2 separate regions of the Homo sapiens genome follow, and region 2 is linked to region 1. Evidence: promoter capture Hi-C in 16 types of primary human blood cells and fetal thymus (Javierre and others, 2016). All regions are on one chromosome and are shown on one strand. The core of a region is centred on a gene start or on the middle of the fragment in contact, and the rest is flanking DNA. Distances in the headings are between cores, read along the strand shown. Region 1 holds the start of DEFB125 (defensin beta 125). Region 2 holds the start of DEFB129 (defensin beta 129).

Region 1 (4,499 bases), core at 1,069-3,568:
GTGTACCTAGCAGTGGGATTGCTGGATTGTATGGTAACTCTATTTTCAGTTTTTTTAGGAACCTCCAAACTGTTCTCCATAGTGGTTGTACTATCTTACGTTCACACCAGTAGCATACAAGGGTTTCCCTTTCTCCAAATCCTTGCCAGCATTTGCTATTGCCTGTCTTTTGGATAAAAGCCATTTTAACTGGAGTGAGATGATATTCCATTGTAGCTTGATTTTCATTTCTCTGATGATCAGTGATTTTGAGCACCTTTTCATCTGCCTGTTTGCCATTTGTATGTCTTCTTTTGAGAATATCTATTCAGATACTTTGCCCATTTTTAAGTTGGATCATTAGATTTTTTTCCTATAGAATTGTTTGAGCTCTTTGTATTTCCTGTTATTAATCCCTTGTCAGAAGGGTCGTTTGCAAATATTTTCTCCCATTCTGTGGGTTGTCTTTTCACTTTGTTGATTGTGTGCTTTGCTGTGCAGAAGCTTTTTAACTTGATGTGATCCCATTTGTCCATTTTTGCTTCGATTGCCTTTGTTTGTGGGTTGCTACTCAAGAAATTTTTGTCCAAACATCCTGGAGAGATTCCCCAGTTTCTTATAGTAGTTTCATAGTTTGAGATCTTAGCTTTAAGTCTTTAATCCATTTGACTTAATGTTTTGTATATGGTGAAAGACAGGGGTCTAGTTTCATTATTCTGCATATGGATATCCAGTTTTCCCAGCACCATTTTTTAAAGAGACTGTTTTTCCCCCAAAGTATGTTCTTGGCAACTTTGTCAAAAATGAGTTTACTGTAGATGTGTGGACTTGTTTCTGTGTTCTCTATTCTTTTCCATTGCTCTATGTGTCTGTTTTTATACTAGTACCATGCTGTTTTGGTTACTATAGCTTTGTAGTATAATTTGAAGTGAGGTAATGTGATTCCTCTAGTTTTGTTCTTTTTGCTTAGGATGGCTTTGGCCATCCTGCATTTTTAACCCTTTTCCCATTTTCACCCAGAATACTCGCTGGTGGCACTTGCAGCTGCAGGGTTTACCCTGAGATAACTTTGCCACAAAATATCTCGCCTTTATTATTATTTTCACATCGTTCTAATATATCGACTTTGAAAACACAAATCATCATTCTATTTATAGCATCTTGTTGTTAGCAGTGGTATTTCCATTTACAAAATATAGAAATTCTTGATCGCTGAAAATGTCAAATTCTAGAAAGCATAGCATTCCCATGTTAACATTGTTCTCAAACAGTTTTGGGCCAAAGAGTCATTTAATGAATCCGGTTTTTTCCAAAATAGATGATTCTGATTATTCAGATGATTCTGATGTTAGTTCTGTTTAAAAATAATTCCAAGAACAGTTTGTATATTTTATTTTCACACTGAACATCAGTCAGCCTCCAGAGCATGTTAATGTAAAATTAAATGAACATGGGCAGTGAGCTGCAGTTTTTTTTCTAAACAGTGCAGCTGTTTAGAAAATTTTTTTAAAATTTTCCTGATTTCCTTGGTATTAAACATATGTGGGAGAAATACAGCTCAGCAAACTCTTCCAGGAGATAAAATGCTGATCACTCCTACTGGGCAATTTCACAAATGTCTCCTATATTTTTCTCCTTTGGTAGTGGGGATGGGGGGCATAATGTTACATTGGGCCTCTCTCCTCTCTCTCTTTCTCTCTCCCTCTCCTTTTAAAATGTTTCCTCTCTCTCAATATTTCATTTCTTATTTGTATTTCTGAATGAGGGAAAAGAGTTGATGGGACAGCGGAACGGGAAAAAGAAGAGCACCAATAAAACCTGTTTTCCTGTTTTCACTATTTTCATTCCAAATTCCTTCTGTCTCATAATTGATGGAATCTTATGAACTTATTAGTTAAAAAGTGTCTTTCTTGTTTCACAGGAATTCATATCGGGGTGATCACTCAGAAGAAAAGGTGAATACCGGATGTTGTAAGCTATTGAACTGCCACAAGTGATATCTTTACACACCATTCTGCTGTCATTGGGTATGTACAAAGTGCTGCATACAGACAGAGGAGAAGGACAATTGAGCCCATCTAAAGTTAACAAAAACTTCCTCTTGGGGCTGTTTCTTTCCATCAGACCTTACAGTTCTACGGGATAATAGCTTATCTCATAAGGCCTCAGCTTTCTTTAATAATTTCTAGAAGCAGACGTTATTGTGTCATGCACACTCAGTGTTGCAAATTAATGGTCTGGTGATCTGGGTGGCATGGCATTTTCCCCTTCTCTGGTTCATCACCCATGATAGACCAGTAAAGGTGACCACTTAAATTCCTTGCTGTGCAGTGTTCTGTATTCCTCAGGACACAGAGCTTCCTCTCTCCCAGGAGCCATGAATATCCTGATGCTGACCTTCATTATCTGTGGGTTGCTAACTCGGGTGACCAAAGGTAATGGAACCCTATAAAGCAGAGATGATGACTAGGATGAGTTGTTGCCCTTGGGCTCCCCTGGTATCATGATGGGAAGAGAGGGAATCTGCAGGAAAAATCTGGGCCAACAAAGAGCAGCAGAATGCTCTTATTTTGGCAGCTCCATGCCCCTAGTCTCTGAGAATCTTTCTGTTAGGGGCATCTAGCAAGCTGGGATGTCCTCTGAGGCATTTCTCCAAAGACAAGAATTTCCTTAATGCTCTGAGCCACCCTATCTGTCTCTCTACATAACTATCCAATGTTAGTTCAGCCTCACTTCACTTCCATTTCGATTATTCTGTTGTATCTATTTCATTGTTGTGTCCTATTAGTTCTCCTACCATCTTGAATTCTTCTTTGCCCGGAGGGTACCTTCAGAGGGAGGCCCTCACTTTCATGTTCTTAGATATGGTGAACAAGTCCATTGACAGTTTGTAGATTCTGTAGCACTATCATATGGAAGAGACAATATATATGTTTGGGGTAGAAGTGGAAATAAGTGGAGTGAAGACAGGATAGACAGACTAGTGACCAATGGGGAGCTTCTAATTTTAGATGAATAGGAACAGTCTGTTTCCACTATTTAATAATGCTACTTTTGAAAATTGTTAACTTTTTATTAAAAAATAATACTTGCAATTGACTTATGTATCAAGCAATCGATGGATTTATAGGGTTTAAGGAAAAGAAAAATGTTTGTCTGTCCAAGAATACCAGTTCTTCAGTCTTCCCCTTCAGAATCAATCAATGTTACCAATTTCTTATATATCCTAGCAAATACAAATATATTTATATTTGCATGTGTATACCTTTTAGATTTTTAAAAAATGCAATTGCAAATGCACCATGTGAATTGTTCTGCAATGTACTAGCAATATATTAGAGACATCTTATCCATACATAAACCTAGTTCATTATTTTTAATCGATAAGTAAAACTTTGAGGAGGAGCAGATGAATTGCCTCACATTAATTACTCCGCTACTGATGAAAAATAGGTCTTTAATTATCAAAAACAATTCAGCAAGAAAAATTTGTAAACAAATGTATGTCTTTTCATTTATGACTGGACACGTGGACACACACACACACACACACACACACACAGTCAAACCACCTACCAGAAAAGCTGAACTATTCTTCTCTCCTATCACCAGTTGCAAGAGTGTCAGCTTCCCACACCCTCATCAGTCCTTTTTGTTTTTTCTACTACATTCAGTTTTCTACTACATTCAGTTTTACAGTCTAATATGTGAAAATGATGTCCTGATGTTTGAATTCATGACACTTTAGTTATAAATGAGTTTGAACATCCAGTCCATTAGATTTCTAAACTTTCTTAATTATCTTTATATACTAAGAAATTTGGCTTTTGTTAAATTTGGAGGTGTTATATGTTGCCTAGAAAGATGCTATTCATGTCTATTAAATGGTTATAACTGTGCCTATGATCTGTTATGTCTTGATTCACATGTTGATGTAATGTGAGTTACAGAATTAATATCTACATTCATTTCTGATTATAAACTGCTGTATTTGTTGAAAATTTGGAAATTTTGAAATTGTAAAGAAGTAAAAAAATTGTAAAGAAGTTAAAAGAGACAAAATATTTTTGATCTATTGTTCTTCCTCAGTTTTCTTATTTGAATAAAAATGTATAGCATACTTATAAATTTTCTATTATACTATTAGTATTTTCCCATTTACTATTTTCAAAAACTGTATTTCCAATGACTGTATAAATTTTATAGAATGGATACTGTTTAAATTACTTAGCCAAATTGTTTTTGCATAAATAAGTGCATTTACATTTTATAGACAAGGATGGCTAGTATAACCTTTCTTATACATAAATCATTCAGCATAAAATTCCTGGAGATGTACTTTTTTCTGTCTGCTTCATGTGTTATCAATTTTTGAATACTTGCCAAGTCCTAAAAATGAAATATTATATATAAATATTTAATTTTTATTTATGTCTGTGAGTAATGGGGAAGTCGAACTTCAAATACATGCTTAATGTATATTTAACTTTTCTACAAATTGTCTATGTCTCTCTTTCTCT
Region 2 (4,499 bases), core at 1,370-3,869, 140 kb after region 1:
ATTTAGAAGAAATAAACATTACTTGATGTGACCCAAGAAGAAATTGAAAATTTGACAGTTCTAAATTGTTAGGGAAATTAAATCTTAAATCTTTAAACTCAGTTGAGTTTTTCTGCTACATTCCAATGTCTGATCCCTAGCTCTATGGGTTTCAACAGACAGTTGTAGAAGCAGCAGAAAAATATCCTTGCTCTTATATTACAGCTACCGTGGTGTGTTCTTGAAGTCCAGCATGTCTAATCATGGGATCCTGTCACCCTACTTTCCTGACTATGAAAGAACTAGCAGATTCTCTGCTGGGCCAGTTTGTTGGAATGTTCTGGAAGTCATTCTGGGAGACCAAGCCCACAGTCAGCTTCTGTAGAGAGTTTATAAGCACATAATTCTGAGTATTAAAAATATTTCTGTTGAAAATAGCTAGTGTTTTTCATTTCCCAACTGATACACATAAATGCAACACTTTGCACATGTGAATAATTTGTCTTTTTACAAAATTATGCTACACTGTTGATAGATTCATTCCATATATACATGCAACATACTTAATTTTTCATAACTTTCCAATTCTTATTAACTCAACTTTTTGTTCCATAATAACTGTGCTTCTCTTTGTACCAGTACTTTCCATATTCTTATTGCTTTGGGACTAGCAAGACACAATGAGGTGAATAATGTTATTTCAATGCATCTTAAAACACCAGAAACCAATTAATATGCGATATTCAGGATTAACTGATTCCAAAGGGCTGTTAATTCCATCTCTTGATATTGACAAGTAGTAAGTAAATATGCCTAAGCTTGATTATTTTTGTTCATAGAAGTAAAATATACATTTCATAAAGTGAAAGTTCATAAGATTTGCTTTTATTGTTTTAAAAAATAACAGTTAATTTAAACAAAACTGAGGAGTCATTGGATACTATAGTAGCTAATGAAATCCTAAGAAGACATGAATTTCAGGAAGGCGAGGAACCAGGGAAACTCTTGAAACTTGAACAATTAATAATATTCAGAGCCAATGAGCTTCAATATCTGAGTTTCTTAGGAAATGTCCCAAATTAGCAGGGGAAAGCATCTGATTGGTAGGCTTGGTTCTATTGTTACACCTGGATCAATCAGCTACGACCAAGGAATCTGAGCAGTACACTATAAAAATTGCTGCTTTTAATTATTTCAACCATTGTGGAAGATAGTGTGGCAATCCCTCAAAAACCTAAAGTCAGAAATACCATTTGACCTAGCAATCCTATTACTGGGTATATGCCCAAAGGAATATAAATGGTTCTATTATAAAGACACATGCATGCATATGTTCACTGCAGCGCTATTCACAATAACAAAGACATAGAATCAACCCAAATGCCCATCATTTGGCCATTTGGATAAAGAATGGATAAAGAAAATGTGGTACATATATACCACGGAATACTATGCAGCCATAAAAAAGAATGAGATCGTGTCCTTTGCAGGGACATGGATGGAGCTGGAGGCCATTATCCTTAGCAAATGAAGGCAGAAACAGAAAACCAAATACTGCATGTTCTCACTTATAGGTGGGAGCAAAATGATGAGAACACATGGACACACAGAGGGGAACAACACACACTGGAGCTTACTGGAGAGTGGAAGGTGGGAGGAGGGAGAGGATGAGGAAAAATAACTAATGGACACTAGGCTTAATAGCTGGGTGATGAAATAATCTATACAACCAACCCCCATGACACACATTACCTATGTAACAAACCAGCACATCCTGCACATATACCCGCGAAGTTAAAAAAGTTTTTTTTTAGTTGCTACTTTAAAAGGATGTGGGAATCATTGTAAACTCAAAAGTTAAAGATGTGCCAAGAGCTGTCTCCCACGAACTTGTTTAACAAACGTACTGACTTTGTATGTTGATCCAATACCCATGCTGGCCACTGGACATACCAGTACAAACAAGGCAGAATCTTCACTCTCCTCTAGCTCTTCTAATTCTCATGCACTAAGTGCCAACCTTAGCATAACTGGGCTGACAATCAGTGAATCAAATATCTAACTCTTATCCTACTCCAACGTTAAGAAAGAGACATGCGACTGGGTGCGGTGGCTCATGCCTGGAACCCCAGCACTTTGGGAGGCCAAGGTGGGCGGATCACTTGAGGTCAGGAGTTTGAGACCAGCCTGGCCAACATGGTGAAACCCCGTCTCTACTGAAAATACAAAAGTTAGCTGGGCATGGTGGTGCATGCCTGTAGTCCCAGATACTCTACTTGGGAGGCTGAGGCAGGAGGATTGCCTGAACCTGGGAGGCGGAGGTTGCAGTGAGTCGAGATCACGCCACTGCACTCCAGCCTGGGCAACAGAGTGAGACTCCATCTCAAAAAAGCAAAAGAGAGACACATGCAAAGGGCTTGCTCTTTCTTTCTCATCTTACCTATCTTATGTTTTCCTCCAGGATCAAGAGCAAGGAATTTGTTGCATAGAGGTGTTCAAGAAAGGGTGTTTTCAAACAGAGTCAGAAAAAACACAACTATACTGCGAGCAGCATACAAACCTGCTTTGGCTGCACTTCACTGCTCATGGCATAAGGCCACGAAGAGGCCAATAAAGGCTGGAGCTCAGGAGCATCAACCCAGATTCAAGGCTTCCTCTCTGGCACCCAACCATGAAGCTCCTTTTTCCTATCTTTGCCAGCCTCATGCTACAGTACCAGGTGAACACAGGTAATGTGGATTCCCAAGTTTAAGATGGGTAGATGAGAGGAACCAAGGATTTGGCTGCCCATGACAATGGAAACCCAAAGAGAGGAGACTGAAAGATTAGCTGTTCAAAAAGATGGCTAAAGAGCTTACCTATTGTATCAGTCATGCACTGATACATTCTCATAGGCCCCAACTGCCAGATTGTGTCCAGTGGAAACACCCAGGAAGCTACAGAGAAAGCAGGGTATTTTTTGTCTATTCAGAAACTATCCAAAATATAATGCTGCCTTCCTGCCCTGTATATGTCTATCATGCTAAGACTAAGCCCAGGTCTACCTCCTTTTAGCTCTATTTCTATCTTAAAAGCCCTTTTTTTTTAAAAAAAGTCCTGGGGTACTTGTGCAGGATGTGCGGTTTGTTACATAGGTAAATGTGTGTCATGGTTATTTGCTGCACCTACCAACCCATCGCCCAGGTATTAAGCCCAGGATGCATTAGCTATTTTTCCTGATGCTCTCCCTCCACCCAACAGGCCCCAGTGTGTGTTGTTCCCCTTCCTGTGAAACCACCTCTTGAAGCAAAGTTTCCTATCAGTTTGTGCTTGGTGTAGAAAGGAGGAAGTTCTTCCCTCATGCTCAAAAAAAAACCCTTTCAAGATCAAGTAAACAGGCCTGTGTTCTCCATCTTGAATTCTTTCAGGTTTTCCAGAGCCTTTATCGCTTCTCTCAGACTTTGTCTTCCTGAAAACCCCCAAACTACCATAAGGGCATCTAGGAATGCATTATAGCAAAAGGCTAAGCCAGGGGATTAACCATTGTTTTTGGAAAAGAAAGGAGAAGCACTGAGATTTGTTTCAGAATACAAGAATCATCCAGCTATTTGAAAAAATTAGCAAAGGGTTTCGGGGCAGGGAAAGTGGAAGTGTCAAAGATGCTTCTAATGTTTTTATCTTCTAATGTTTTTATCTTGGGACCCTAGGAAAAGGGTAGTACCATAAGCAAGTATGGCTGTGTCATCTTGGGTAAAGTCACTTAACCACTTTGAACTTCAATTTCACATGAGTATAATGGGGTTAATCAATGCAGCTGATTCCAATATAAGAATTTTTCTGTTTCCCGTTTGATGAGAAAACAATGTGGAAATGTATGCAAATATGCTTTGAAAATTAGCAGATGCTACATAAATCTCTTGTAATTTAGGGAAAATCATTGGGTTATTAAGATGAACAAGGGAGAAAAGCTTTCTTGATTCAGAAAAAAGAAACACGAGACATTAGGATGGAAAAGTCATTCAGCAGATAAAGATAAGGTACTAAGCCGAGCAGGAAATTTAGAATTATAGATAACAATACAGAAGTTACCTTGGTGGATATGAGGTTAAGGCTAGGATAATGAATGAGACTTCTGAGAGATAGAGTGTCCAAAGAGGCTAGAAGAGATAGAACACCATGCTTCAGGAATCACAGATCTAGTGATTGTTGAGAAGAGAGAAGTCATGGGCTACTGAGTTTGGTGAAAAGATAAGACTCCTGAAAATTCTATTGATTCTCTTTTGAACTTCTTTCTTAAATTAGTTTTATGATGGACTTGGCTCTCATTGGTATTTCCCAAGATTATGGAGATGGGATAGTGATGTCTGACAAGTACCTAAGATGCTAAGTTGAAGGTCTAAAATTCCATCCTAAAAGCAAATAATTACTCTATCATCTACGTGCCCTTTGCTTCTTAAAGTTACTCAAGGAAGGCAGACTAAACAGGAAATTTACTTTGGATTCAAGAGGGGCATAGAGACGCTCTCAGCCTGCCCATTTGC

What was found. The method cuts DNA at HindIII sites, captures the fragments that hold promoters and counts their contacts. A CHiCAGO score of 5 or more calls a contact.
Region 2: a contact is called between the fragment with the promoter of DEFB129 here and the fragment with the promoter of DEFB125 in region 1, in 3 of 17 cell types (erythroblasts, endothelial precursors and megakaryocytes). The highest score is 9.0, in erythroblasts.

Annotation. Positions count from the first base shown.
Region 1 is chr20:85,354-89,852 of GRCh38, forward strand. It overlaps DEFB125 (defensin beta 125), which reads left to right and starts at 2,319. Exons shown (of 2, transcript NM_153325.4): 1 at 2,319-2,414. The coding sequence starts at 2,357. The HindIII fragment of the contact is 5,466 bases long and covers 482-4,499 here.
Region 2 is chr20:224,639-229,137 of GRCh38, forward strand. It overlaps DEFB129 (defensin beta 129), which reads left to right and starts at 2,620. Exons shown (of 2, transcript NM_080831.4): 1 at 2,620-2,708. The coding sequence starts at 2,651. The HindIII fragment of the contact is 3,129 bases long and covers 796-3,924 here.